Linked DNA regions of Homo sapiens: all the other regions are linked to region 1. Evidence: promoter capture Hi-C in 16 types of primary human blood cells and fetal thymus (Javierre and others, 2016). All regions are on one chromosome and are shown on one strand. Each heading gives the region's core, a stretch centred on a gene start or on the middle of the fragment in contact. The rest is flanking DNA. Distances are from core to core; before and after follow the strand shown.

The links. Contacts are between HindIII fragments. The CHiCAGO score rates a contact against its expected background, and 5 or more counts as called.
Region 2: the fragment with the promoter of ZNF219 here is called in contact with the fragment with the promoter of RBM23 in region 1 in 3 of 17 cell types (fetal thymus, naive CD8 T cells and M0 macrophages); the score reaches 7.4 in fetal thymus.
Region 3: a contact is called between the fragment with the promoter of CBLN3 here and the fragment with the promoter of RBM23 in region 1, in 2 of 17 cell types (monocytes and erythroblasts). The highest score is 5.6, in monocytes.
Region 4: the fragment with the promoter of CHD8 here is called in contact with the fragment with the promoter of RBM23 in region 1 in 4 of 17 cell types (naive CD8 T cells, total CD4 T cells, non-activated CD4 T cells and 1 more); the score reaches 12.3 in naive CD8 T cells.
Region 5: a contact is called between the fragment with the promoter of METTL3 here and the fragment with the promoter of RBM23 in region 1, in 5 of 17 cell types (activated CD4 T cells, total CD8 T cells, non-activated CD4 T cells and 2 more). The highest score is 13.3, in activated CD4 T cells.
Region 6: the fragment with the promoter of TINF2 here is called in contact with the fragment with the promoter of RBM23 in region 1 in 2 of 17 cell types (total B cells and non-activated CD4 T cells); the score reaches 5.5 in total B cells.
Region 7: the fragment with the promoter of CHMP4A here is called in contact with the fragment with the promoter of RBM23 in region 1 in 6 of 17 cell types (total B cells, monocytes, non-activated CD4 T cells and 3 more); the score reaches 10.0 in total B cells.

Annotation. Positions count from the first base shown.
Region 1 is chr14:22,916,801-22,920,875 of GRCh38, reverse strand. RBM23 (RNA binding motif protein 23) reads left to right here and starts at 1,727. Exons shown (of 14, transcript NM_001077351.2): 1 at 1,727-1,877. PRMT5-AS1 (PRMT5 antisense RNA 1) reads right to left here and starts at 1,420. Exons shown (of 2, transcript NR_120600.1): 1 at 1-1,420. It overlaps PRMT5 (protein arginine methyltransferase 5), which reads left to right. Exons shown (of 17, transcript NM_006109.5): 17 at 1-347. RefSeq lists a silencer at 1,353-1,652 and enhancers at 1,913-1,982, 2,073-2,182, 2,253-2,422, 2,911-3,675. The HindIII fragment of the contact is 7,114 bases long and covers 1,299-4,075 here.
Region 2 is chr14:21,096,343-21,100,417 of GRCh38, reverse strand. ZNF219 (zinc finger protein 219) reads left to right here and starts at 1,763. Exons shown (of 5, transcript NM_016423.3): 1 at 1,763-2,106. It also overlaps a transcript of TMEM253 not described here. RefSeq lists enhancers at 1,581-2,081, 2,841-3,342. The HindIII fragment of the contact is 7,101 bases long and covers 1-4,075 here.
Region 3 is chr14:24,426,843-24,430,917 of GRCh38, reverse strand. CBLN3 (cerebellin 3 precursor) reads left to right here and starts at 1,250. Exons shown (of 3, transcript NM_001039771.3): 1 at 1,250-2,163; 2 at 2,513-2,632; 3 at 2,932-4,075. The coding sequence starts at 1,864. The coding sequence ends at 3,129. KHNYN (KH and NYN domain containing) reads right to left here and starts at 964. Exons shown (of 8, transcript NM_015299.3): 1 at 799-964; 2 at 1-204. The coding sequence starts at 187. RefSeq lists enhancers at 1-233, 378-557 and a silencer at 588-1,127. The HindIII fragment of the contact is 4,979 bases long and covers 533-4,075 here.
Region 4 is chr14:21,454,010-21,458,084 of GRCh38, reverse strand. It overlaps CHD8 (chromodomain helicase DNA binding protein 8), which reads left to right and starts at 1,962. Exons shown (of 38, transcript NM_001170629.2): 1 at 1,962-2,053. It overlaps LOC124903283 (a long non-coding RNA gene), which reads right to left and starts at 1,688. Exons shown (of 2, transcript XR_007064064.1): 1 at 1,608-1,688. RefSeq lists enhancers at 562-1,113, 1,390-1,439, 1,450-1,499, 1,114-1,665, 1,530-2,219. The HindIII fragment of the contact is 18,756 bases long and covers 1,291-4,075 here.
Region 5 is chr14:21,508,966-21,513,040 of GRCh38, reverse strand. METTL3 (methyltransferase 3, N6-adenosine-methyltransferase complex catalytic subunit) reads left to right here and starts at 1,701. Exons shown (of 11, transcript NM_019852.5): 1 at 1,701-1,917. The coding sequence starts at 1,818. RefSeq lists an enhancer at 1,419-1,658. The HindIII fragment of the contact is 13,792 bases long and covers 1-4,075 here.
Region 6 is chr14:24,241,373-24,245,447 of GRCh38, reverse strand. It overlaps TINF2 (TERF1 interacting nuclear factor 2), which reads left to right and starts at 2,825. Exons shown (of 9, transcript NM_001099274.3): 1 at 2,825-3,307; 2 at 3,454-3,558; 3 at 3,672-3,773. The coding sequence starts at 3,116. RefSeq lists a silencer at 1,891-2,185 and enhancers at 2,377-2,676, 2,847-3,106, 3,177-3,396, 4,057-4,075. The HindIII fragment of the contact is 13,864 bases long and covers 1-4,075 here.
Region 7 is chr14:24,211,702-24,215,776 of GRCh38, reverse strand. It overlaps CHMP4A (charged multivesicular body protein 4A), which reads left to right and starts at 2,289. Exons shown (of 6, transcript NM_014169.5): 1 at 2,289-2,368; 2 at 3,948-4,075. The coding sequence starts at 2,338. NEDD8-MDP1 (NEDD8-MDP1 readthrough) reads left to right here. Exons shown (of 7, transcript NM_001199823.3): 4 at 115-225; 5 at 1,178-1,285; 6 at 1,382-1,467; 7 at 1,626-1,834. The coding sequence ends at 1,753. MDP1 (magnesium dependent phosphatase 1) reads left to right here. Exons shown (of 6, transcript NM_138476.4): 2 at 1-40; 3 at 115-225; 4 at 1,178-1,285; 5 at 1,382-1,467; 6 at 1,626-1,834. The coding sequence ends at 1,753. RefSeq lists enhancers at 247-985, 2,140-2,434, 2,071-2,570, 1,998-2,806, 2,761-2,880. The HindIII fragment of the contact is 5,751 bases long and covers 1,597-4,075 here.

The DNA of each region.
Region 1 (4,075 bases), core at 478-2,977:
GAAGCAGCTTCAGGTTCTGCTCCTGTAGTACAGAAGGTGCAGTACATCTATGGGCTGTGATTCCCCTTGCCCATCAGAGAGGAGCATTTCAATCTGCTTTCCTGCCTTACATCAAGGTGGGCAAGGGATTATAATTAATTGCAGGGCTCAAGCCACCAATCTATGAAGACCTCAGGCCAGGGGGTGAGGAATTAGTGCTGGATTTGAAGCTACGCACTCAGCCTCAAGAACTCCCTGGAATATCCCTGAGAACATGGGGTTTGAACGGATTTTCAGCCTTTTTCTGTTCTTGTTTTGATGGTTTTGTGTAAGAGGAAATACAAATAAAGTTATAGCCCTTTACTGCACGACCATGCTGCCCCCTGCCACTATTTTCCCACACCTCACTTAGACCCAGGCATGTTCAGATCTGTCCTCTTAGCCTATCCAAGACCCAAAGGGGCCTAGTTGTATTCCCTACTTAGGAAGCTGAGCAATGACTATTGTAGTCCTGGATATAGGCCTTTCTGACCAGCTACAGTGAGCTCTTGTCCATTAGAACCTACAGTTAGGCTTTTCTCTGGGGAGGAGGCATAGAGTTTGCCACCTTGGAAAAAGATGGAATAGTGAGTGAAGCCAGTTTCTCTTCTGTATTCTTGAGCTACTGCACGGGCAACTGGTTACCTCTCCTTTGTTACCTCTTGGGAAGACTGGAATCCATCCAGGAATCTCCAGCAAGAAGCTACCTGTTTTTTTTGAATAAAACCACAGGGTTACAGTTTGAAGTCCTAAGAGATCATCTAGTCCAATTTTCCATTTTACAGAGGGGGAGTTTGAAATGGGTACAATGATGTGATATTAGTATCCAAGTCAGAATTGGAAGTCAGGTCCTCCGACTCTGGCTCTCCCCATGTTATAACCAGCTACATTTTTGGTAGCTACAGTAGACCACAGAAGTGTCTAGGGGCTCCTGGAGGCCCCTGGAAAGTGAGGGTGGACATCAGTTCCTTCTTTCCGGTTAGAGGACTCAGTACTGCTACATCCAAGGAGTCACCTGAGAAACTTTCAAATTTACCCTTGCAGTGGGAAATGTGGGGGTACTGATTTGAACGGAAGTTATGACCTGTGGGAGCAGGCCATGACGATAGGGCAGAGTGTGGGCCAAGACAAGTCTGTGGCAAGATCTGCTTTTCCCTGGTCCCAAGCACCGAGGTCAGGAGAGGTGGTCGGGAAGGTTGTTTAGGTAGCCGGCTCAGAACGGGGATTTCGAGTTCAGCATCCCCGGACGTTAAACAAACGCCGCTGTTCTCTACAAAGCTTAACCTTAACGACCGACGTGACTCCTTCAGCAAATCCGAGTAGGGACGGCCAAGGATGTAAATTGTGCCTCCTCGTTGGCTCCGCCCATCGCACTGGTCTAGTCTACGCGAGCACCAGGAGTGGGGTTGGTGGCTTCTTCACTCCCGTTTTCAGTCCCGTTTTCCCCGCCCTCCGCAAGTCATTTAACCAATGAGAGAGTGATGGGCGGCTACCAAAGGACGCTTCCATTTTCTGGAGTCTCTGAGGTTAGCCAATCAATGGGAACTCGGTGGTTGCTAAGACGCATTTGAGTTTGCTCCACCCATACTTAGGACTTTAGCCAATGAGAACCTGTACTTTGGACGGTTGCCGCGAAACCAGTGAGGTTATTTCCAAAGCCGGGGAGTCTTGGCGCATGCGCAGATTGGGGAAGGTTCTGGAAGACGGCAGAGCTGCCGCCATTTTGCGGGAAGAGGAGGCTCTGTACCTGCAGTGCTGCTTTTCTTGCCTAGACTCTAGGAACTATCCGAGCTCCACTCCCCACAACATACTCAAAGGAACGGAGAGAACCGGGACCCCCCTGCGGGGACCCGGAACTGGTGAGAAACCCCAAAACCCGGTCCCCACCAGACGTCACCAATGCGTGACGTTGCTGCACGGCGCCTCCCCCCTGACGTCACGGGCAGAAAATGGCGTCACGAAGAGATTCAGGCGAACTTTTAACATTAAAAAAACCTTTGTTTGTTTTGACCTGGAAGTGTTAGCTACTTAAATGTAGCCCACTGCCACGATTTTAGAGTTGGGCACCCTCGTGGCTGTATCTTGCACCGATAAAGATGCGGTTTCTAGAATCCTGTGATTTTTCTTTCCGGGTCTCTGCAGCCGTGACACTTAGGGTCGCCCACACTGGAGAGGGAGCATCGACCCTCCGCGGCCTGAGAGGACACGCATCATCAGTTTCAGCCACTCGCACCACCATTCAGAGAGAGAGAAGGGAATTGAGCTTTCTTCCTCAATCTCTAGTCTGTCGAAGATTCATGTTCACTATGTTGACCTTTATGGGCTTTTCCCATTTAACTTTTTCAAGCACTCATTCCAGTAGGCGTATTATGATGCCACATATGAAGATTGAGCCCTGGGACACTGGCTCCCGCAGAGATTGTGCCAGTTGGTTGCCTATAGGACCTCTTTTTTTTTATTTTTTTAAGGCGGAGTGTCGCTTTGTCACCCAGGCTGGAGTGGAGTGGCGCGATCTCGGCTCACTGCATCCTGTCTCCCGGGTTCTAGCGATTCCCCTGCCTCAGCCTCCCGAGTAGCTGGGATTACAGGCGCCTGCCACAACGCCCGGCTAATTTTTGTATTTTTAATAGAGATGGGGTTTTGCCATGTTAGCCAGGCTGACCTCGAACTCCTGACCTCAGGTGATCCACCCGCCTCGGCCTCCCAAAGTGCTGGGATTACAGGCGTGAGCCACCGCGCCCGGCCTATAGGACCATTTTTTAAAGCTACACAACATGGGGAGGGTGGTCCTTCAAGTAGCTTTTATCGTTCTCATTGTTCCTCTTTTGTTAAGCTGCCTTCAGTTTGTAGGTGTTTGTGCCCAGCTAAGTGATCAGACCCTGGGGATGGCGCTACCATCACCCCTGGGGCTCCAGCTTTTCGTGAATTCTTCCCGAATTGGTCTGACAGTGGTTCTCTCTGCTCCTTTAGCAGTGGGGTCTATCTGTTGGCTTGTGCTATGACGAGGTCTAGGAACTGACGTGATTGTGGGTCTCTAATACTGTTTTTGGAGCAGGATGGAAGAAAACATACTCTATGTGGATGAGATTGAGTGGACCTTGACCCATAAGTTGGGACATGAAGAGAGCGTTTGAAAACTACCAACCTGGGCCGGGTGCAGTGGCTCACGCCTGTAATCCCAGCACTTTGGGTGGCCGAGGCGGGCGGATCACGAGGTCAGGAGATCGCGACCATCCTGGCTAACACGGCGAAACCCCGTCTCTACTAAAAATACAAAAAAAAAACAAAAAAGAAGAAAAAAGAAAAAACTACCAGCCTGAAAATGCATAGTGTTTGCTACCTTATTGCTTTTAGCACATCTAGAAAGACACTAAACCCAGTGAGATTGCAAGTTTCAAAATATTGTGTTGTATATGGCTTTGCTTAAACGGATATATTTGTTTCTGAGTGAAAACTTTTTACGTAGAGGTTTATTTGTAGAGGCTTGTAAACTTAAGTGTAAGTTTTAGTGTGTGTGTTAAGTTGTTCTTACCCCGCATTAGCACTCAACAATGAGCAGTTCTTGAAATCAAGCATTTCATTTGGAGGGGAAAAAGCAGATTGTAAAAAATAGTTCATAACAGAAAATTTGTGTAGACTTGGCAGCAAAAATGACTGAAACAGCTTGAGTATAAAAAACTTTTCTTTTTAGGCCGGGCTCGGTGGCTCATGTCTGTAATCCCAGCCCTTTGGGAGGACCAGGCAGGCGGATCACCTGAGGTCAGGAGTTCGAGACCAGCCTGACCAATGTGGAGAAACCCCGTCTCTGCTAAAAATACAACATTAGCCAGGTGTGGTGGTGCCTGCCTGTAATCCCAGCTACTTGGGAGACTGAGACAGGAGAATTGCTTGAACCTGGGAGGTGGAGGTCGCAGTGAGCCGAGATTGCGCCATTGCACTCCATCCTGGGCAACAAGAGTGAAACTCTCTCAAAAAAAAACAAAAACAAACTTTTCTTTTTAGAACTATTTTCCCATAGTGTATATTAGTCTAATACCTTTAAGCATACACTGTACAT
Region 2 (4,075 bases), core at 514-3,013, 1.8 Mb after region 1:
TCTCCATCTGTGTGATCTTGGATACATTATTATTATTATTATTATTATATTATTGAGACAGGGGCTCACTGTCACCCAGGCTGGAGTGCAGTGGCATGATCATGGCTCACTGTAGCCAACACCTTCTGGGCACAAATAATCATCCTGCCTCAGTCTCCCAAGTAGCTGGGATCACAGGCACATGCCACCATGCCTGGCTAATTTTTAAATTTTTTGTAGAGACAGGGTCGTCTCACAATGTTGCCTAAGCTGGTCTCAAACTCCTGGGCTCAAGCCATCCTCCCTGCTTGGCCTCCCAAACTGCTGGGATTACAGGTGTGGGCCACTGTGTCTGTCCTGATAGATATGTTTTTCTACCTATTCGCACCTCAGTTTATTCACTGATAAAAGGGGGCTAACAATATGACTGTGAAGAGTTGTTGATTCAGGGTGGGTGTTTAATAACTATTAGTGGTGCTGATGAGGTCACACCGATAAGTCTGATGCCCATACACTAAAAGTGTTATTCAGAAGGAAGCTGGGGACACATTTCTACAGTCGGAAGCAGAACCAGCTGGGCCCAAATATACTCTATAGATCAAAACAAATCCCAGATCTACCTAGGTGCCCTTGGCAAGTTGCTTAATCTCTCTGTTCCCTTATCTATAAAAGGAAGTTAATAATACCAGTCTCAAGGGGTTGCTTTCAGCATGGAAGAGAGCTTAGCCCAGTACCTGGTACACAAGTGCTCAATGTTAGTGGCTATGATCATCATCACTATTATTATTTCTTGTTGTTGACGATAAGAGGAGACTGCGCCAGAAGACTCTAGAAGTTAGTACGAGGAGGGAGGCAGGGTCCTGGGAGGCAAGTGATCTTTTGTAAGCCACTCCTGCCCCATCAGTGCTGTGCCAACATCGGCGGGTCATTGTATCTACTCTTTTCTTTCCCGGGGAGTGGGAGTCACGTTTTAAAGAGATCCAGAAAACTGCTGTGTGTCTACTCCTCCTCAATTCCCACGTGCATTGATTTTATTTGGTGGCGATGTGAGATGTTGGGCTTGCACTGAGGATCCCCGAGCCTGCAGGCCACTGGGGAAACAGACTTCCTGAAGCCTCATTTTTCTTACTTGTAAATGGGGGCTAATTTAATTATAGAGGGTTATTGGAAAGATTATATACTATTAGATAGGTGAACAGGCATTCAGTAAATATTGACTAAATCTGAGTATACTACTTACCAGTTTGTAGTCTAGACTACAATCGCCTGGAAGGAAGGTACCACTTCTTTCTCATCCCTCACAGCGCTGAGCCCAGTGCCTGGCACTTAGTAAGCACTCAGTAAATATTTGTTGTATTGAAGAGCCATTAAAGTGACTTGAGGAATGGAAAATAGAATTCGAGAGGAAGGCGCAGGAATTGTTTATCAAGAACGGAAAGGACCGAAGAGTAACTTTAATAATGTTTCTTATACGGCCGACATTAACTATCTCTATAATCGCCCCTCCTCCTCCCCCAAAAGAGAGACAGAAATTGTAAGGGAGAGGCTTTGAGATAAAACCCCAGGAAGAACTTCCCGAGTCTGTGCATGTTGGGGCAGAAAGAGCGGCAGAGCCAACTCCTTCCCTGGTATGTCCGGGTTTAGGGAGGGAGGGGCAGTGCTGCTTGGAGGCTGGGGGAAGGACGAGATGACCTTTCAAAATCTCTTCCAGTCTCCTGTTGGAATCCTCTGTGCGCCCCACCCCCGCTCCCTCCCTTCCTCCCTCCCTCCGACAGCGCCCCCCGTCTCCAAACCGCCCGCACCCCGCCCCTGGCGGCCGCCTCTCGCGGCTCCCGGGGTCCCCAGCTCCCTGTCCCCGGAGCCAGAGCCCGGCTCCCGCGCGGCTCCCAGCCCCGCCGCGCCGCCCCCCGCATGCTAATGGCCGGGCCGCCTCCCGCCGCACACAATGCGGGCCAGGGCCGGGGGCGGGGGACCGGGGAGGGGGCGGGGGCCGGGCCGGGGGCGGGGGGGCCGGGGCCCGGCGCATCTCCCCCGGCCCCACGTAACGCTGACGCCCGCGCCGCCGGCCCGCCGCCCGCCGCCGCCGCCGCCGCCGCCGCCCGCTCCGCCGCCGCCCGCCCGGGGCTCGTGAGTAGCCGCTCCCCCGACTCCCGGGCCCCCCCGTCCGCCACCCGGCCCCCGCCCCCGGCCCCCTCCCCCCTCCCGGAGGGGGGGCCCGCTCAGCGCGCCCGGCTCGGAGCAGGTGCAGGGGGCGGGGGCGGGGGAGGGGCGCCGGCTCGGCCCCAAGCAAACTTCGCCCAGAGCTCCTGGGGGGGCGGGGTGGGGGTGGCGGCCTCGGAAGCCTGGAGAGCTGGGGGGCCCCAAGGGAGGGGGGGCCAGGTGGAAGAGCTGGGGGAGCAGACACCAAAGGGAAGGGCCAACGGGGGGGATGTGGCGGGGGAGGTGGCGGGTGTCTTTGTAGGGGCCCGAAGGCAGGGCGCGAGGGACCTGGGGGTGAGGGGCGGCAGAGCCGCGAGCCTGAGTGGATGTGCACCCCCCAACCCCCGGCCCAGGTAGGGCTGGTGGGGGAGGGGGAAGGAGCCCAAACTCTCTGGAAGCACGGGGTGGCGGGGGAGGGGAAAGGATGGGGGGTGCTTCCCTCTTTGCGTCCCAAACAAAGTGTCACAAAGAGCTCGGCCCGCGGCAGCAGCGGAGGCGGCTGTAACTCAGCTTTTGTTCTCCTGGCCGGGGGTAGCTGAGCCTTGGCCTCCCTATCTCCCAACCCTGCCCCCCATCATCCTTCTGGCTTATCTTCCTGGGGAGGGGTCTGGGGTGCTGCTGGAAAAACCTCTCCGGCAGGATAGCAGGTCCTACCCTACTTAGCAATCTATTTCTGGGAGGGGGATTTTCCCAGAGGCTCCCTTGATCGCCCCTACCTCCCAGTCTGAGGACCGAGGCTCACGTGGGTGCTAAGACTGACTTTTCTAGGGTCAGCTCCACTTAAAGGGACTTAGGGCTGGCTACATGCCCCTCTTTCCCAAACCCAGGTCTTCCAGAACTTTCAAAATCAAAATCGGGGTTGCGTTAGGACATGCCTCTGGGATAAGATTCCCCATGGTGGGATGGCAGCAGGTGAGCAGGTGTGCCTTCCTCTCGCCTCCTGCTGTACCTTTGAAGTCCATGGCTGAGGTTCCATGTCCCTAACTCAGGAGAGTGAGGACAGAGGGAAGGAGGCTTTACCAAGATCTCAGTCTAAAAAGGCTGGTGAGCTGCAGAGTGGAGCGGGTTAGGAGGAGCTATCTGAGCAGTGAGGTTCAGAGGGCCATGGAGAGGAGACCATAAAAGTGAACTACTGGTGTGTCTGTGTGATCAAGGTAGTCTTTTGAACGTAGACCGCCCTAGAAGCTCCCTTTCCTTTTAACCCCATCTAGTGCAGTGGTAATCATAATTGTTAGCAGATTTGGGAGGTCTAGGATTCTCAAGAGGGAAAACCATCGTGTTAGAGGTGACCAGAGGCAGTTACAACTGGACCCCAGAAGTCCTGAACCCTTGCTCCTTACACTTTGACCCTAAAAACTTTTGAATCACAAGACTTGAGGGACAGTCTTTGTGGTCCATTTAGCAAATACTTCTATGTACCTGTCCTTGTTGTTTCTAAGTCTTTTCACCAACCATTCCATCCTTCTCTACTGAGTAAGGTTTAGTGGTCCACACCCACTTCCCTACCAGCTGCCCCAGCATGTAAGGATAATTGGCCTACTGCTTTTGAAAGGTTTCTGATATCTATCCCTGGCCCCGCATCCTTATAGAATCCAAATAAGGGCAAGATAACCCCTGATTCCCAGTGGGGGTGGAAAGTAGGTCAGTGCTGCTGTCTGGCCAAGTCTCGAGGATGGTGTTTAAGGCCTGACTATAGAAAACTCTGTGATTATTGTCCAGGGGCAATATATGCATGACCTCGGTTCCAAGGCAGTTCATAGTATCCCAGTCCCTGTCAGTTCTTTCCCCTACTGAGAAAAAAATCATGGGATCAGGTGTCTGGAACCTGGTTTGATATGGAGATGATTCAGATCTTCATTGGGCCTAAGAAGGTATCTCAGTGAGTTTTGTTGATTTT
Region 3 (4,075 bases), core at 1-2,500, 1.5 Mb before region 1:
CGTTTTCCTTGGGGCCCTCCAGCTGCAGCCAGATGTGGGGGTTGTCCGGACAGTCCTTCGGAAGGACGCTCACCCCCACGCTGAAGATGCGCTCCACATGGGGCTGCTGTTCCCGAACCTTGTTCTCAGCCTCCGCAGACACCGCAAAGCGATCTGGGGACGCGGGGCGGGCCCCCCAGGTAGGCATGGCTGCTGCCCCCAGCCCTGGAAGGGGAGAAGGCAGCTCAGAGCCTCATTGTACCCTCCATCCAAATCCTGGTTCCTGGGACTACACCAGCTATCAACAGGTCGCACCTAGTTAAGGCTCTGGTAAACAGCCCCAGGAGGTGACAAGCATCTGAGTCCACTGGAGGTAGGGAGGGTGTATGTCACGCAGGCCTCTCCGGAGAGGAAGTCCCGGTAAACAAGGCTGTCTATCGAGAGTGGGCGTCTGGGCTTTGGAAAAGGATGACCACAGTCCGGAGCAAGAAGGGTGGGGGGGCTCCAGCTCGGCCTGGAGGCCAGAAGGAGTCTCCTGGGGCACTCTGAAGCTTCTTAAGGACGAATCCTCAGCAGGGGATTGAACTAGGCTGTCCTCTGGGGGCCCTGGTCTGCCATTTCCAAGGTTCAAGCCACTCCCACCCCTCCCCCAGCCGTCCGCTGCCCCTCTCCGTCGGGCCAGGAGCACCGCCCAGGGCCCAGGGGCCGGGCCGGGCCGGGCCCGCCCACCGCGGACTGGGGCAGCCACCCCGGGCCGGGCCTACTCCGCACCGCGGCCCCCGCTCCCCGCTCCCGGGCGCGGTGGAGGGGCGCGCCTACCGCCTCCGCCGCCCGCGCCGGCTTCAGGTCCTCTCAGCGCCCGCCAGGCCCCCGCTTTGCCCGCGCCCCCAGCCCAGGGGACAAGGGCAGGGGGCCCGAATCTGGGCGGGCCTTCCCGGGTTCCTCACCCAGCGGGGACCTCTCTTGTCCACATCGCACGCAAACTGTTTCTTGAGTCACTTCCTGGCCTGGGGCGGAGTCAGCCCAGCTCCTCCCGGCTGCGCGCCCTCCTCCCAACCCCGCCGCCGCGCCCAGAGGCCCCGACGGGCCCGCTCGGCCTAGTCCCCTCGGCGGCTCCAGGGCTCGCCCCTTGCGCTTCTCACCAGCCCTCCCGTCTGTCTCCCGGCCCTCAGGGTCCTCGCGCATTCTGCGCAGTTACTTCTCGGAAAGGGGAACCATGCGTTGAAAGTTGTTTCCCGCGAATAAAGATGTGGCCGACCAAAGAGGCAGCGTGACTGGCCCACTGGTGCTCTAGGCCCAAGCACTTTCCACCAAAGCAATCGTGGCGGAGGGGGTAGGCGGGAGGCGGGAGGCGGAGGGTACCCGTGGTGGAGTACCCCTTTCTTCCAACAAACGGAAAGATGCCACGAAGAAGGGCTGTTGATTTGTGGGGGATTTTGAAGAGAGGAAGAGTAGGAGGAAGGGGTTGAGGGGCTGCCTCTGGCATATGCACACACTCACACATTCTGTCACACCCGTCACACACACATACCATGTTCTCCATCCCCCCAGGTCCAGCCCTCAGTGCTGTCCCATCCAGCAGGGCTGCCCTGAAGCTCTGGCTGCAGCCCTCCCGTCCAGTGGGCAGGCGGCTTCATCCCTCCTTTCTCTCCCAAAGCCCAACTGCTGTCACTGCATGCTCTGCCAAGGAGGAGGGAACTGCAGTGACAGCAGGAGTAAGAGTGGGAGGCAGGACAGAGCTGGGACACAGGTATGGAGAGGGGGTTCAGCGAGCCTAGAGAGGGCAGACGATCAGGGTGCCGGCGGTGAGAATCCAGGGAGAGGAGCGGAAACAGAAGAGGGGCAGAAGACCGGGGCACTTGTGGGTTGCAGAGCCCCTCAGCCATGTTGGGAGCCAAGCCACACTGGCTACCAGGTCCCCTACACAGTCCCGGGCTGCCCTTGGTTCTGGTGCTTCTGGCCCTGGGGGCCGGGTGGGCCCAGGAGGGGTCAGAGCCCGTCCTGCTGGAGGGGGAGTGCCTGGTGGTCTGTGAGCCTGGCCGAGCTGCTGCAGGGGGGCCCGGGGGAGCAGCCCTGGGAGAGGCACCCCCTGGGCGAGTGGCATTTGCTGCGGTCCGAAGCCACCACCATGAGCCAGCAGGGGAAACCGGCAATGGCACCAGTGGGGCCATCTACTTCGACCAGGTAATCCCCCTACCCCTGTCCAGGGGACCTGGAAAGACCCTGCAAGGACCTGGAAGCAACTGTCCAAGCCCACTTTGCTGTCTCTGAGGCTTTAAGAAAACAGCTTCCTACATCTTTCACTAATCTGGCCTATTGCCCCACCACCCCACCGACGGTTTCCCCTCCCTCCACCCATACGCAGCCCTCTCCTTGCCCCTTCTCACCATTTCTTTTGAATCTGTTCACTCCTATTCACTCCTACTTGCCACTCCTTCTATTCATTACTCACTGCCCCTGCCCCTAGTCCCCATGGTACCCCTGAGCCATGGGCATTTCCTGAGCCCCACTCAGCAGGCTCTGCTTCCCCCAGGTCCTGGTGAACGAGGGCGGTGGCTTTGACCGGGCCTCTGGCTCCTTCGTAGCCCCTGTCCGGGGTGTCTACAGCTTCCGGTTCCATGTGGTGAAGGTGTACAACCGCCAAACTGTCCAGGTGACCTCAGCACTGGCCCCCATCCCCGGCTCAGGAGGGTGGGGAGGGGGAAGAAGGGGAGCCCAGCTGACCTCCGGGTGGACTCTCCATTGACCTGTGTCCTGGAGGCCAGGACCAGGGGAGGAATGGGCCTGCCTTGCATTGAGTGTGGAGGATGTGCAGAGTCCAATGCTGGCCGCCCCTCAGCCCTCCCGGGAGAGCCCATTAAAACCCAGCTTCCCAAGAGGAAGCTCCTGGGAAAGTGGGGGGTCCTGAGCTAAGGGCTGGGGAATGGGGGCTAACTGGGCTCCCCTCCCCAGGTGAGCCTGATGCTGAACACGTGGCCTGTCATCTCAGCCTTTGCCAATGATCCTGACGTGACCCGGGAGGCAGCCACCAGCTCTGTGCTACTGCCCTTGGACCCTGGGGACCGAGTGTCTCTGCGCCTGCGTCGGGGGAATCTACTGGGTGGTTGGAAATACTCAAGTTTCTCTGGCTTCCTCATCTTCCCTCTCTGAGGACCCAAGTCTTTCAAGCACAAGAATCCAGCCCCTGACAACTTTCTTCTGCCCTCTCTTGCCCCAGAAACAGCAGAGGCAGGAGAGAGACTCCCTCTGGCTCCTATCCCACCTCTTTGCATGGGACCCTGTGCCAAACACCCAAGTTTAAGAGAAGAGTAGAGCTGTGGCATCTCCAGACCAGGCCTTTCCACCCACCCACCCCCAGTTACCCTCCCAGCCACCTGCTGCATCTGTTCCTGCCTGCAGCCCTAGGATCAGGGCAAGGTTTGGCAAGAAGGAAGATCTGCACTACTTTGCGGCCTCTGCTCCTCCGGTTCCCCCACCCCAGCTTCCTGCTCAATGCTGATCAGGGACAGGTGGCGCAGGTGAGCCTGACAGGCCCCCACAGGAGCCCAGATGGACAAGCCTCAGCGTACCCTGCAGGCTTCTTCCTGTGAGGAAAGCCAGCATCACGGATCTCAGCCAGCACCGTCAGAAGCTGAACCAGCACCGTATGGGCTAGGGTGGGAGGCTCAGCCACAGGCAGAAGGGTGGGAAGGGCCTGGAGTCTGTGGCTGGTGAGGAAGGAAGGAGGGTGTATTGTCTAGACTGAACATGGTACACATTCTGCATGTATAGCAGAGCAGCCAGCAGGTAGCAATCCTGGCTGTCCTTCTATGCTGGATCCCAGATGGACTCTGGCCCTTACCTCCCCACCTGAGATTAGGGTGAGTGTGTTTGCTCTGGCTGAGAGCAGAGCTGAGAGCAGGTATACAGAGCTGGAAGTGGACCATGGAAAACATCGATAACCATGCATCCTCTTGCTTGGCCACCTCCTGAAACTGCTCCACCTTTGAAGTTTGAACTTTAGTCCCTCCACACTCTGACTGCTGCCTCCTTCCTCCCAGCTCTCTCACTGAGTTATCTTCACTGTACCTGTTCCAGCATATCCCCACTATCTCTC
Region 4 (4,075 bases), core at 713-3,212, 1.5 Mb after region 1:
TTCTGATAAATCTTAATACTAACATCAAATTGATATAATGGCAGCAGTAGCCAGGAGAGAATTTGGTTGACAGATTTTTTTTTTTTTTTTTTTTGAGACAGAGTTTCCCGCTTGTTGCCCAGGCTGGAGTGCAATGGCATGATCTAGGCTCACCACAACCTCCGCCTCCCGAGTTCAAGTGATTTTCCTGCCTCAGCCTCCTGAGTAGCTGGGGTTACAGGCATGCACCACCACACCCAGCTACTTTTGTATTTTTAGTAGAGACGGGGTTTCTCCATGTTGGTCAGGCTGGTCTTGAACTCCGGACCTTAGGTGATCCACCCGCCTCGGCCTCCCAAAGTGCTGGGATTACAGGCGTGAGCTACCGCGCCTGTCTTGGCTGACAGATTTTGATACACAGGGAAATGTATTTGGCCAAGTCTTTTTTTTTTTTTTTTTTTTTTTTTTTTTTTTTTTGAGATGGAATTTCGCTCTTGTTGCCCAGGCTGGAGTGCAGTGGTGAGATCTTGGCTCACCACAACCTCCGCCTCCTGGGTTCAAGCGATTCTCCTGCCTCAGCCTCCCGAGTAGCTGGGATTATGGGTGTCTGCCACCACGCCCGGCTAATTTTTTTTTGTATCTTTACTAGAGACGGGGTTTCACTATGTTGGCCAGGCTGCTCTCGAACTCCTGACCTCAGGCGATCCACCCGCCTCAGCCTCCCAAAGTGCTGGGATTACAGGCGTGAGCCACTGCGCCCAGCTTAAGGCCGAGTCTTATCACTCATATGACTTCTTGATGTCTCTGAGCTCCTATCATGTAAGACCATGCAATTATGTTACTCCTTGAGAAATTCCTTTAATAATCTGGAAGGATTCCCTCACTCACAACTTTAAAAAAGATTTCTTGGCCAGGAATGGTGGCTCATGTCTGTAATCCCAGCACTTTGGGAGGCCGAGGTGGGCGGATCACTTGAGGTCTGGAGTTCGAAACCAGCCTGACCAACATGGCGAAACCCCGTCTCTACTAAAAATACAAAAATTAGCTGGGCGTGGTGGCGGGAGCCTGTAGTCTCAGCTACTCAGGAAGCTGAGACAGGAGAATTGCTTGAACCCGGGAGGCAGAGGTTGCAGTGAGCCGAGATCGCCCCACTGCACTCCAGCCTGGGTGACCGAGCGAGACTCCATCTCAAAAAAAAAAAAAAAAATTAGGCCTTTAAAAAAAAAAAGGAATTCCTCCTTAAGTCCTGTTCTTGATTTCCAACTGATTCACAGTGCCCCTACTGGAAAATTTGCAGTGAATCCTAAAGCTTAGTAGCACCTATAATAGATACATGTCCTGATATTTTGAGTGAGGTGTCCATAAAGGATTACCCTAGGAAAGTGCAACTTTCACTCTCATTAGAAGAATTAATTTTTGCTTATTTGATTTGTTAAAATTGCTTTACTCCTACAGTTAAGTGAGAGGGTGGTGGTGGTTGTTGCCCGTAACCACATACGGCATTACTCCAGGGTTTCACGTCGTGACTGAGGGGCCTCCTAAGTGTATACAGCAGAGTATGTTCGGGCTGGACCTAGATAGTCGGACAGAACACCGACAGGGTCTTCACATTCTTTAAGCACTCTCACCCAGTCCCGGAGTCCGAGCCAAGATGGCTTCCCAGAAGTAGGTAACTAAGTGTTGTTTTAGTTCACAGCGCCCCCAATGGCGGGGGTCAAAAAAAGATGCCGAGGGGCCTGGCCGCCTGTGAACTGAGTCGTCAGAGGCGAGCCGCCGCCAGATTTTATTTTCAATCAGGCATATTTGTGGTCGCCTACGTACCCTTCTCATCCTCCTAGGACCTTCCACCCTCAAGAGACTTCCTGGATGGCGCTCACACTAGCTCGCTGGAAGAGGCCGGGCTTCGGTGCTGCCATTGGCGGATGGGAGCGCAGGGGGGCGGAGCCTAGGGAGAATGGACTACTAGCAAGCTAGATTGAGGCGAGGGCTGGCCATGCTCCGCCGGAAGGCGCCTTGTTCTCGGAGAGGGTGAGTTGAAACGCTGCCTGGAAAGGAAGTACCAGGACTTGCACAGGTAGGCTTCCCGCTCGCACCCGCTCCTCAGTGCTGGGCCAGGAGTCAGCAAAAGCTGAGGCTCTCAGAGATTTGATTTAAGTAACTCCTTCTCCTCTCTCTTCCACCCCCTGCTCGCCCCCCAGTTGTGAGGGATCAGGTGCGGGGTGATGCTCCGGACTGAACCAGTCTCCTTTGTGAGAGGCCGGGGGAGAGGGTGGCTGCCGGGCCGCGGGGTCCGAGCCGGGCCGAGCCGCGAGGGACTGCTTGGGACGCTGTGGAGTTTTCAGGGCTTGTCATTGCATTACTGGGCGTAGTGTAGATTGGAGGCGGCGCCTTGTTCTCCTCTCTTCAGAGAAGGGAAAACTCCTCGGCCCCGTTTGGTTACTCCATACTTTGGATTCAGAAATAGGTGGTTAGGGTTTTCTACTTCTTTTTATTTTTTTTTCTTCTGTATTTTAATAATAAAGGTGGGTAGGAAAGCATGGGGTAAGCGTAAGCAGATTGTTACTCATTCTCAGGTGTAAGTTCTGTGGGTCTCCTGGCAGTGAAGAGCAGGCTGTTGGAGAATGTTTAGAGATGGTGGGAAGAGAGGAGCTCAAGCCTTGCATCCTCCTTGACAGGTCTGCAGAGCTCACTGGTTTTCCGTTGCATTATGTAAACTCGTCACTGATAGAAGACCCTTCCCCCTGCTTTGGAACGAATGCAGTTTATTTACCTGTCTCTAGTGTCGCAGGGAATTTCCCTGCAGCAGCTGTATAAATGCAGCAGCCTCTTGCTTTTTAAGGGACAGTCTTGAAGCGGTTAGGGTCTTCACAGAAAAGGTATATAGTGGACCCATCTCTTTCGTATGGCTAAGCAAAGTGAGCCAGAAGTCAAAGATTTAGAACTCTGTCTTTTTCTATTAAAGAATAAACAGCGGAGCGCCCCAAACACAAGCCAGGGGAGCTGCCTTATCAGTGTCTGCTGCATCCTACCATCACAGCGGCGTCTACAGATCGTTTCATCTCCATGCTTTTCTGAGTTTGTCGACTCAGTCAAGGATTCTCAGCCTAGGTTAGCATATGCTGAAGTCATCTGGTGTGGGGCACATTACATATCGAAAGTGAGTTTGTGATTTGAATCGTGTCCTGTGTTAGTTAATTAGATCGTGTCTTCTGCTTAGGAATTTCTTTTGTATTGGTCATCCAATAGGTTTCAGAACAAATTCTAGTCAACCTCATAGAGCAAGATATGAGAAACTTATTTCAAGTACTTTGGAATTATCCCAACCCTTAAAAAAAGAGTTATGATAAGAAAAACATTTTCCATGTAAGAAGACCTTCTGCTGCAAGAGAGGCGTGTCAGTGGATCTGAAGGCAAGTGAAAGATATTGGCCAAAGAGAGAGTAGGCAAGTTTGAAGAGACAGGCTTAGGAGAAAGTTTAAAACTGAAATAGTGGCTCACGCTTGTAATCTCAGCACTTTGGGAGGTGGAGGCGGACGGATCACTTGAAGTCAGGAGTTCGAGACCAGCCTGACCAACATGGTGAAACCCCGTCTCTAAAAGTACAAAAAATACAAAAAAAAATTAGCCGGGCATGGTGACGCGTGCCTGTAGTCCCAGCTACATGGGAGGCCAAGGCATGAAAATCGCTTGAACCCTGGAGGTGGAGATTGCAGTGAGCCAAGATCGTGCCCCTGCATTCCGGCCTGGGCGACACAGCCAGAGGATAGCAAAGGAGTAATGGATTGGGATAAGGGATATAATGGAACAGTGTATGAGTACTTGAACAGTTTTTGTATTCTCCATGTTTGATCTGTCCTGTGCATCTGCTCTTTTGGTTTTGTCAGTTTTCTTTTCTTTTCTTTTCTTTTCTTTTCTTTTCTTTTCTTTTCTTTTCTTTTCTTTTTTTTTGAGACGGAGTCTTGCTCTGTCACCCAGGCTGGAGTGCAGTGGCAGGATCTCGGCTCACTGCAACCTCCGCCTCCCAGGTTCAAGTAATTCTCCTGCCTGAGCCTTCCGAGTAGCTGGGATTACAGGCGCCCGCCACCATGCTTGGCTA
Region 5 (4,075 bases), core at 452-2,951, 1.4 Mb after region 1:
AAGCCGGTGGCTCATGCCTGTAACCCCAGCACGTTGGAAAGCCAAGGCAGGCTGATGAGCTAAGGTCAGGAGTTCAAGACCAGCCTGGCCAACATGGTGAAACCCCATCTCTATTAAAAATACAAAATTAACTGGGCATGGTGGCAGGTCCCTGTAATACCTGCTACTAGGTAGGCTGAGGCAGCTAGAATCCAGGAGGTGGAGGTTGCAGTGAGCTGAGATCACACCACTGCACACCAGCCTGGGCAGTAAGAATGAAACTCTGTGTCAGGCCAGGCTCGGTGGCTCACGCCTGTAATCCCAGCACTTTGGGAGGCTGAGGCAGGGGGGCAGATCGTAGGGGCAGATCACGAGGTCAGGAGTTCGAGACCAGCCTGGCCAACATAGTGAAACCCTGTCTCTACTAAAAATAAAAAAAATTAGCCAGGTGTGGTGGCACGCGCCTGTAATCCCAGCTATTCGGGAGGCTGAGGCAGGAGAATCGCTTGAACCCAGGAGGCGGAGGTTGCAGTGAGCTGAGACCACGCCATTGCACTCCAGCCTGGGTGACAGAGTGAGTGAGACTCCATCTCAAAAAAAAAAAAAAAAGAAAATGTGTCAAAAAAAGAAAGAAAGAAAGGATTGTAGGAAAAACCACCACCACCAACCTTGTATTTAAGTTTACTACACATACAGAAAAGTGCACACCAAAATGTTCAGCTCAATTACATTTCACAAACTGAACACACTCATGCAGGTAGCTCTCATAACAAAAAACACAACGCAACCAGGACCTCAAAGCCCTCTTAGTGTCGGAACCCGATTTTAATAGATTACACGTACTTTGTAAATTTAGCCTAAGAGAGAGATCACGTATTTGAAGACCTCTCGGATTTTTCCTTCATCAGCCCTCCCCACTTCCCCACGCCTCGTCAACACAAAGAAGCATGCCCGCACCCACCACCGCCCCCTCCTCACCTCAGATTGGGGACCACCGTTGTGTTTTTTATTTTTTTGTAAATGAACGCATGGAAACAAACCAACACCACCTTCAGTGGAAAAGGTATGTTAGTACCAAACTGTCAAAAGGAACTAGTGATCCTTCATCTTAAAAATCTGTACTATGGCCGGGTGTGGTGGCTCACGCCTGTAATCCTAGCACTTTGGGAGGCCAAGGAGGGCGGATCACGAGGTGAGGAGTTCGAGACTGGCCTGGCCAACACAGTGAAACCCCGTCTCTACTAAAAATACAAAAAATCTGCCGGGCGTGGTGGCGGGCGCCTGTAATACCAGCTACTCGGGAGGCTGCGGCAGGATAATCACTTGAACCCGGGAGGTGGAGGTTGCTGTGAGCCGAGATCGCGCCATTGCACTCCAGCCAGGGCGACAGAGTGAAACTCCGTCTCAAAAAAAAAAAAAAGAAAAAAACCCCCAAAACTGTACTATATGGTGTTGCTCTCTACGAGTGCTACTTTAACACAAGTCAACTCTCAGGACTCCTCTCCGAATATTCAACATGGCCGCATGCGCGTCTATAAGCAACATGGCCGCTCTGCCAGTCACCAACATGGCAACCACAGCCTCACTGTGTCCGGAAGCATGAGAGAGCGGGTATGAGGACTATACCGGCCGCTCTGCCAACACCTAACGTGGCTCTTTATAGCTTCCAAGAAAGCGCGACACCGGAAATGACTTTTCTGTCTTGCTCAGCTCCAGGGGTCATTTTCCGGTTAGCCTTCGGGGTGTCCGCGTGAGAATTGGCTATATCCTGGAGCGAGTGCTGGGAGGTGCTAGTCCGCCGCGCCTTATTCGAGAGGTGTCAGGGCTGGGAGACTAGGATGTCGGACACGTGGAGCTCTATCCAGGCCCACAAGAAGCAGCTGGACTCTCTGCGGGAGAGGCTGCAGCGGAGGCGGAAGCAGGACTCGGGGCACTTGGGTGAGGCACTGGGCTGTTGGGGCCGAGGCTCAACCGGGGAGGACGGGCGGGATCCCTAGAGAAAAAGCTCCAGAGTCACTGCCCTTTACCAAACGGCCATTTCTATAAAGCCTCGTACATTGGTACTCCCTCTCCACCTTCAGCAGCAGACGTTCGCCCTTCTGCAAGTAGTTCGCGGTTCCTCCTCACGCTGGGCCTCGGTTCTTCCAGCTCACTTTTACCGGACGGACGCTTGAGCCCCACCCTCGTCCGCCTTGCCCACTCCTCTTCAGACTGCGAGGACGTCGCCTTTGTGAGGCTGCTCAGCCCCCTATCCCGCGAAGCAGCAAGAACCCCTTTTTGTTGCTGCTTTGGCGCTTTGTTCCCTCAGTTATAACGACTGTTTTGTAGTGGTCATTTCTTGGCAGCTGTGGGTACAGTAAGCGAGGAATGAACCTTTATATCCGCAGTGCCCAATTTAGTGGCCCGTACAGAGTGGCACTGGGTGTTTCTGAATGAGTACCCCTACCGGCATTGACTTAGCCATTTACATACCTAGCAGGAATCTGAAAACATTTGTGTTTGGTTTCCAAACTTTTTCTCTTCTCCTGTTGCCCCCGTGTCACGATCATAAAACTTGAAGGAAATTTAAAAGATTAAATTCACTGTTATCCACTCCCTACCCTCAGGACAAACTCTGAATTATTTAAGGCAAACTAGTAACAAAGCTCTGCAAAAATAGTGACTCAGTATCACCTTTGTGGTAGATTGTTCCAATATTTGTCAGTATCTTCAACTGCATCTCTAAATCTTGTCTAGATCATGTTAGGTTCATGTGCTCGTATTCTGGCCCCTAGAAATAGAAGATGCACTGGCAGGATCCTCCCACCTAATTAATTACCTTTCTTGAGTATCTACAGTGTTCATGGGTCTAATTAGACAAAAATAAGGAAGAAATTGCCCCTGTCCTCAAGAAGTTTAAAAAGCATAGGATTCAAGGGGAGACGCTTACAAAAAGTGAGGAATATGATAAGATATATGTACGAAACCAAATGAATGAATCTACAGTCTGTACAATGAAGAGAAGTAACAAGAGCTGGTGTAGGTAGTGAAGCCATCAAAACCATCATAGTGGAATTGGCACTTGAATTTGGCCTTTATGGCTATATAGGACCTAGATAATTAAAGAGGTAAGAGGGGAGGATAGTGGAGTAAGAAGTGCAAGTCATATGGTCAGGCAATAATTAGTAGTCAAGTCTCAGAGTAGTTCCTGAATTACCTAAGAGGGAGAATTTTTTTTCCCTTGCTCTAGAAACTTCATTGATTTATTTATAGATACAATTTTTTGTTTTGTTATGTTTTTTCCCCTATTCTTTGGTTTCCTGTTTTGAAACTTTTTAAAAATGTGCATAAATGATGCCAACGACTTTTTTTGCTTTTGTTTTTGAGATAGCGTCTCTCACCGTTGCCCAGGCTGGAGTGTAGCAGTCCTCCCGGCTCATCCTCCTGAGTAGCTAGGACTACAGGTGCATGCCACCATGCCTGGCTAATTTTTAACTTTTTAATAGAGATATGGTCTCATTATGTTGCCCAAATTTGTCTTGAACACCTGGCATCAAGCTGTCCTCTTGCCTAAGCCTCCCAAAGTGTTTGAATTACAGGTGAGAGCCACCATATCCAGCCTATTTAATTTTCCTGTGGAGTCTTTTCCCATTCAGCAATGGCAGTTGCAAAAGGGGACCTGAGGATCAGGTAGTTGTTTGTTTCAACAAAGTGATCTGCAAAATTATTTAGTTAGTTAGTTAGAGACAGGGTCTCCCTCTGTCACCCAGGCTGGAGTGCTGTGGCATGATCATGGCTCACTGCTGCCTTGACTTCCCGGGCTCCAGCGATCCTCCCACTTCAGCCTCTCAAGTAGCTGGGGCCACAGGCGTGTGCTACCATGCCCAGCTATTTTTTGTATTTTTGGTGGAGAAGGGGTTTCACCATGTTGCCCAGGCTGATCTCTAACTCCTGAGCTCAAGCAATCCACTCACGTTGGCCTCCCAAAGTGCTGGGATTACAGGCGTGAGCCACCATGCCTGGCCTACAAAATTAACTTTTAAAAAGCCGCTATATTGGTGTACTACATCATTGACTACTTTGTGTTCACCTTTCTGTCGTTTTTGTGACAGGCCAT
Region 6 (4,075 bases), core at 1,576-4,075, 1.3 Mb before region 1:
GGCGTGGTGGTGTACGACCTGTAGTACCACCTACTTGGGAGGCTGAGGCACCAGAATCGCTTGAACTTGGGAGACACAGGTTGCAGTGAGCTGATATTGAGCCACTGCATTCCAGCCTGAGCAACAAAGCAAGACATTGTCTCAAAAAACAAAAAAAACCCACTGTAACAGAAATGATGAATGTCTGTGATGGGCTCATCAATAGACTGGACATGGCCAAAGAACATGGTGCGCTTGAAGAAATGTCAACAGAAATTTCCAAAGCTGAAATGCAATGAGAAAAAAAAATGAAAAAGAACAGAATATCCAAGAATTGTAGGACAATTATAGAAGCTGTAGCATACACATAATCAGAATGGCAGAGAAGAAAATAAAGGAACATAAGAAATGTGGCAATAATGACTGAGAATTTCCCCCAAATTAATGACAGACACAAAACACAGATCCAGGAAGCTCAGAGAGCAGCAAGCAGGATAAATACAAAAAACAAAAAATGAAGATAGACTGGGCTGGGCAACACAGAGAGACACCCCTTCTCTACAAAACATATTTTTCTTTTTTTTTTTTTTTGTAGAGTCAGGGTCTCACTGTATTGCCCAGGCTGGTCTCAAACTCCTGGCCTCAAGTGATCCTCCCACTTCAGCCTCCCAAAGTTCTGGGATTACAGGCATGAGCCACCACACCCACCAAAAAAGATTTTTTAAAAAATTAGCCAGGGACTGCGTGCAGTGGCTCACGCCTGCGATCCCAACACTTTCGGAAGCCGAGGTGGGAAGATCGCTTGAGTCCAGGAATTCGAGACCAGCCTGGGCAACAAAGACTTGTCTCTACAAAAAATAGAAAAAAATGAGCCAGGCATGGTGGTGCATGCCTGTAGCCCCAGTTACTTTGGAGGCTGAGGCAGGAGGATCACTTAAGCCCAGGAGGCAGAGGTTGCAGTGAGCCAAGATCACTGCACTCCACCCTGAGCAACAGAGCGAGACTGTCTCCCCACCTCAAAAAAAAAAAAAGAGCCGAGCGCGGTGGCTCACGCCTTGTAATCCCAGCACTTTGGGAGGCCGAGGCGAGCGGATCACGAGGTCAGGAGATCCAGACCACGGTGAAACCCCGTCTCTACTAAAAATACAAAAAAGCCGGGCGCGGTGGTGGGCGCCTGTAGTCCCAGCTACTCGGGAGGCTGAGGCAGGAGAATGGCGTGAACCCAGGAGGCGGAGCTTGCAGTGAGCTGAGATCGCGCCACTGCACTTCAGCCTGGGCGACAGAGCGAGACTCCGTCTCAAAAAAAAAAAAAAGTAAAACAACAGAAGTTCATATCTACATAAGAAAGAAAGAACATTAGAGAAGGAATAAATAAAGGGAAAAAGGAAGATAACTAGAATTTCACACATATCCAATTTGGGGTACTTTGGGACTGGGTGTTTCTTGGGCAGTCGAATGTGCGGATCAGCTGAGACTGATCCGGGGCGGAGACAAGGATGTGTGAACCATTATCTCTGGGAATGGAAGACATGGGCTAAAGACGGAGCAGTTTCACTAAATCCTTGTAAGGTGGTCAAGGCAGGCAACTAATCCAGCCAACAATTAAGGAGTGTAAGCTGTGTGTTAGGTTCTGTGCTTGCTGATGGAAATGAGAGGCACCAGGAAGCCTGTGGAAGAGACAGTCAAGGAGAGCAGTCAATTACATTAGGGGGCTGACAAGTTCAGTGCACAACAGAATCCTAAAACAAGAAACTAATTTGTGTGTGTGTGTGAGACCCCGTCTCACTCTATCACTCAGGCTGGAGTGCAGTCACTGAAGCCTCAACCTCCCTGGCTCAAACAATCCTCCCAACTCAGCCTCCTGAGTAGCTGGGACTACAGGCGTGCCACTACGCCCGGCTAGTTTTTTTGATTTTCAGTAGAGACAGGTTATCGCCATGTGATCCAGTCTGGTCTGGAACTCCTGGGCTCAAGCGGATCGATCCTCCCCTCTCGGCCTCTCAGAGTGCTGGGATTACAGGTGTGAGTCACCGTGCCCCCAGCCTGTATTCTATTTCTTCTTCTTCCTCTTTTTTTTTTTTTTTTTTTCTTTGAGAGAGATTCTCCCTCTGTCGCCCAGGCTGGAATGCAGAGGCAAGATCGCGGCTCACTGCCACCTCCCGTCTACTGGGTTCAAGCGATTCTCCTGCCTCGGCCTCCCGAGTAGCTGGGATTACAGGCGCCTGCCACCACGCCCAGCTAATTTTTGTACTTTTAGCAGAGAAGGGGTTTCACCATGTCGCCCAGGCTTGTCTGGAGCTCCTGGGCTCAAGTGACCCTCCTGCCTCGGCCTCTCAAAGCGCTGGGATTAGACACAAGCCACCACGCCCAGCCTGTATTTTATTTTTTAAGGGCGGGCGCCCTCTTCTGTTTTATAAAAGGAACAGTCGAATTCCTACTGGAAGCGACGCGCGCAGAGGGGAAGGCTTTGTAGACGCCGGCTCGGGTCTGGAATTTAAAGAACTAAATTTCGATGGGTGAAGACAGTGGGAAAGGGCGGTGGCATGATCCTCGTTTTACAGACTAGGAAGTCGAGCCTCACGGGAGTGACGGGGCTTCTCCGCAGGCTCCGCGAAGAAAGCAAGGCTGGGAGGACCCAGACGAACGGCCACAACAGCCTCAGCGGCCACGACAGCCTCAGCCGCCAACTCATGTCAGCCGGCAGAGAGTGCAGGAAGCGGGCAGCTACAGCTCCGCTGGGGCGTGGCCTTCTGACGCACCGTCACGGTTCCCTCTGTGGCCGCCCATTGGCTCCCTCTTACCGCCCTTTTCCGGGGCAAGGGAAGCTAGTAGCGGAGCCGGAAGTGAGGCACCCTCGGGCTCGAGACAGCGGCGACGTTTAAAGCTGAGCGACCCAGTGCCACTGGAGACGGTCAGCTTCTCCACTCAGGCTCCTCCAGCCCGAGCCAGAAGACCCCCTCCCCCAGAATTCTGGGGGCCGATGGAAGGGAGCCGAGTCAGATCGCGAGGTACCCAGAGCCGACAGACCGGAGCGACAGGGAGTTGCCAGAAGCCCCGCCCCTAGGAGTGATCGGAAAGCCTCACCCATCCGGGTGAGGAACCCGGAGGGACCGCCTCCGGGCGGAGCCCGCCGACCATGGCTACGCCCCTGGTGGCGGGTCCCGCAGCTCTACGCTTCGCCGCCGCGGCTAGCTGGCAGGTTGTGCGCGGACGCTGCGTGGAACATTTTCCGCGAGTACTGGAGTTTCTGCGATCTCTGCGCGCTGTTGCCCCTGGCTTGGTTCGCTACCGGCACCACGAACGCCTTTGTATGGGCCTAAAGGCCAAGGTATTGGAGCAAGTAGGACCTGGAAGGGGAAAGAAAGAAAGGGGCGGGATGCGAGCACCTGACAAGGGCCCACAGCTTGGGGATGAGACTAGTTGGAAAAGGTCAGCTTGCCCCGAAGTGGGGATTCTGAATTCAGTACCGTACAGGTGGTGGTGGAGCTGATCCTGCAGGGCCGGCCTTGGGCCCAAGTCCTGAAAGCCCTGAATCACCACTTTCCAGAATCTGGACCTATAGTGCGGGATCCCAAGGCTGTGAGTAATCCCCGGAACAAGCCCTGACCCCAGTTACACTTGGTGCAGCAAAGTTGCTCCTCCTGTCTACTGGATGTTGGTGCTAACTTCTCTGTCTTCTGTATCCTCAACAGACAAAGCAGGATCTGAGGAAGATTTTGGAGGCACAGGAAACTTTTTACCAGCAGGTGAAGCAGCTGTCAGAGGCTCCTGTGGATTTGGCCTCGAAGCTGCAGGTGAGACTGGTTTGAAGGCTATTATGTGGCTATTTTCTCTAACCCATTTTTTTTTTTTTTTGAGGAATCTTGCTCTGTCGCCCAGGCTGGAGTGCAGTGGCACAATCTCGGCTCACTGCAACCTCTGCCTCCCGGGTTCAAGCGATTCTCCTGCCTCAGCCTCCCGAGTAGCTGGGATTACAAATGCCCAGCTAATTTTTGTATTTTAGTAGAGATGGGGTTTCACCATGTTGGCCAGGCTGGTCTCGAACTCCTGACCTCAAGTGATCCGCCCACCTCGGCCTCCCAAATGGCCAGGATTA
Region 7 (4,075 bases), core at 1,040-3,539, 1.3 Mb before region 1:
GGGTCGACACGCACGTAGACCCTCCGTTCCATAAGAGCAGGTGAGGTAGGGACAGGGAAGACTGGGGGCGAGATAGGACCCAGCCAGGGCTGAGCGCACTCTTGCCCTCTCCAGTGATGGAACTGTACGAGATAGGCGGGGCCAAGACGTCCGACTGTACCCAGAGGTGCCTGAGGTCCTAAAACGATTGCAGAGCCTTGGGGTGCCCGGTGCGGCTGCTTCAAGGTAAGAAGAGCGACTGACAACTGACAGTGTAATGCTGAAGGGTGCATGCAAGAGACAGTGAAACCCCTGGTCTACAAAAATAGGGGCGGTGCAAGTTTCCAAGTATTTACATATTTTTTCCCTTGAACGCTCTCCTGTGCCTTTTAACTATTAAAAAGTGGGGCCAGCAGGCGGGCGCGGTGGCTCACGTCTGTAATCCCAGCACTTTGGGAGGCCGAGGCGGGTGGATCACGAGATCGGGAGTTCAAGACCAGCCTGATCAACATGGTGAAACCCCGTCTCTACTAAAAATACAAAAATTAGCAGGGCGTGGTGGCACGCACCTGTAATCCTAGCTACTCGGGAGGCTGAGGCAGGAGAATCGCTTGAACCCGGGAGGCGGAGGTTGCAGTGAGCTGAGATGGAGCCACTGCACTTCAGCCTGGGTGACAGAGTGAGACAATGTCTCAAAAAAAAAAAAAAAAAAAAAAGTGGGGCCAGACACAGTGACTCACACCTGTAATCTTAGCATTTTGGGAGGCCTAGGTGGGAGGATCACTTGAGCCCAGGAATTTGAGACCAGCCTAGGCAATAGAGGGAGACCCTATCTCTACCAAAAAAAAAAAAAAAATTGTAGTGGCGTGCACCTGTAGTCCCAGCTACTTGGGAGGCTGAGGTGGGAGGATCACTTGAGCCCAGGAGGTCGTGACCACAGTGAGCCGTGATTGGGTCGCTGCACTCCAGTCTGGGCAACAGAGCTAGACCCTGTCTCAAAACAAAAGCTAAAACATTGGCCCAGCACCAATTGTGTCAAATAGGAAGGCAATGGAGTTAAACAGAGGCTGAGGATGCCTGTCCATCCCGGAAAAACAGCAAGTTGATTTCCCTGGTTATACTTACTAACTTTGCTTAATAAGTTAACGTAGCCCTGGCCCTTCACTTTGCTAATCCCATCTTTTACACCGTTTTGCAGGACAAGTGAGATAGAAGGGGCCAACCAGCTACTGGAGCTCTTTGACCTCTTCAGGTACTTTGTTCATCGGGAAATCTATCCAGGCAGCAAGATCACACACTTTGAGAGGTATGCGGAGATAAGGGAGGAGCAGGGTGAGAAAGTATCAGAGAGGCCTGGGAAACCAAGATACTAGCTTGGTTACTCCTGCCCTGTCTTGAATAGGTTGCAGCAGAAGACTGGAATTCCTTTCTCCCAGATGATCTTCTTTGATGATGAGAGGCGGAATATTGTAGACGTCAGCAAACTGGGTACTGAGTGATGAGGAACAGCCATTTGGGGTCCCTAGGAGGGATTAGGTAGATACATACAGGTTGGATAGTTTGCCCTATAGGTGGCACTCACAAAGGTCAGAGTAATAATGGAGAACCCTGAAAGCTTAATGAAATGTGACTTCTTATCTTTCTAGGTGTTACCTGCATTCACATCCAGAATGGAATGAATCTTCAAACTCTAAGTCAAGGGTTAGAGACATTTGCGAAGGCCCAAACTGGGCCTTTGAGGTCCAGCCTTGAGGAGAGCCCATTTGAGGCCTAAACTGAAAGGAAATCAAGAAGGCATTTTCAGGTGCATTTGTAATTTATTAAAGTTCATCTGTGTGTGACAGAAGAGATTTTACCCACAGTGTGGGGAGTTTCTATTTTTCTAGCCTGTGAAATGGGGTTGGTTGTCCTGAGGTGCAGAGACCAGAATGTGAGACATTAGACTGCATCAGGTTTGCCATCTAAACTTAGGGCAACCCCAAGTGCTTGAACCTATACCACCCCACTTTCCTGAGCTCTGTAAAGAGCATGAAGTTTTCCCACTGACCCCATACACTGAGGTGCCATCACACTGCACATTTCCTTCCGGAGAACAAGCACGTACTCAGGTGGAGATAGAACTGTCTTTTTACTTAATAGAAAATGATGTGGCAGCTTTAAGAGGAGCGCGTCGGTCTGGGGCTGGTGGCTTGGGTCACGTGACACCGGTGGTCTCGTTTGCGCCTCTTGATGTCGCGGCGGCGCCCTGAGGACGGATTGGGCAAGGCTGGTCCCTGTGTGATGAGACATCACCCTCCCAGGAGCAAGGCGGAAGTCTGGAGGACGCTGAGGGGCGGAGGCGGGAGAGGCGAGCTCGCGATGAGTGGTCTCGGCAGGCTCTTCGGGAAGGGTGAGCCAGGGTGGGACTGGCCAGCCAGGAGGCGCTGGCTGGTGCAGGGGAAGAGGAGACCCCGGCGAGATTCGGCCGGACCGCTGCGCCGGGCAGGGGAAGAGAATCAGGAGACAGGCTGACTGGAAAACCCCGGCGGCCGATGGCGGAGCAAGGCTCATCGCCGGTGCCAAAAGGCACACCATGTCGGGGCGCCTTGTTCCCGTCCGCCGTCCTCCCCCACTCTCAGAGGGAAGAACTCAAGATCTGGGAGGGGACTTGAGTTGAGGGCGTGGCGATCGTGCTGACTCCCACTGTTCAGGCTTGAAGACGAGTTTCCTGCTGTCTTCAGCCATTTTCAAAACCTTGTTCTATAATACTTTGTGCTGGGCAAGAGGGATCTAAGGTGAAGAAGAAAGACTGCCTTCTTAGCCCGGCGCGGGGGCTCACGCCTGTACTCGCAACACTTTGGGAGGCCGACGTGGGTGGATCATGAGGTCAGGAGTTTGAGATCAGCCTGGCCAATATGGTGAAACCCCGTCTCTACTAAAAATATAAAAATTGGCCGGGCGCGGTGGCTCACGCCTGTAATCCCAGCACTTTGGGAGGCCGAGGTGGGTGGATCACCTGAGGTCAAGAGTTCGAGACCAGCCTGGACAACATGGTGAAACCTTGTCTCTACTAAAAATACAAAAAAAAAAAAAAAATTAGCTGGTTGTGGTGGCACGCGCCTGTAGTCCCAGCTACTGGGGGAGGCTGAGACAGGTGAATCGCTTGAACCCAGGAGGCGGAGGTTGTAGTGAGCCAAGATTGCACCAATGCACTCCAGCCTTGGTGACAGAGGGAGACTCCATTCTCAAAAAAAAAAAAAAAAATTAGGTGGGCATGATGGTGTGTGCCTGTAGTCCCAGCTACTCAGGGAGGCTGAGGCAGGAGAATCACTTGAACCCGGGAGACGGAGGTTGCAATGAGCTGAGATCATGCCACTGCACTCTGGCCTGGGCAACAGAGCGAGACTCTGTCTCAAAAAAAGAAGTCCTGGCGCGGTGGCTCATGCCTGTAATCAAAACACTTTGGGAGGCCGAGGCGGGCAGATCACCTGAGGTTGGGAGTTCGACACCAGCCTGACCAACATGGAGAAAGCCTGTCTGTACTAAAAACACAAAAAATTAGCCAGGCATGGTGGCACATGCCTGTGATCCCAGCTATTTGGGAGGCTGAGGCAGGAGAATTGCTTGAACCCAGGAGGCGGAGGTTGAGGTGAGCTGAGATCACGCCATTGCGTTCCAGCCTGGGCAACAAGACTGAAACTCTGCCTAAAGAAAAAAAAAGAAAGGCAGCTAGGAATAGTAAAAAGAATATTGGTTTTAGAACTCATACTGCCACATCTTGATTCCTGCACAATCTCTTATTAGTTGTGATTTTTAACATCTTTGTGGTTGTTTTCACATTTTTAAAGTGAAGAGATAGCACGTTCATTGTAGAGATTTGGGGATTAGCAATAACACAGTCAGGTCTCTAGCACATACTATGTATTCAATGATTGGTGGCTAATATTTTTCCTTCACAAAATTTGGGCCTACTCCACTGGACTCCTCAGGGAAGAAGGAGAAAGGGCCAACCCCTGAAGAAGCAATACAGAAACTGAAGGAGACAGAGAAGATACTGATCAAGAAACAGGAATTTTTGGAGCAGAAGATTCAACAGGAGCTACAAACAGCCAAGAAG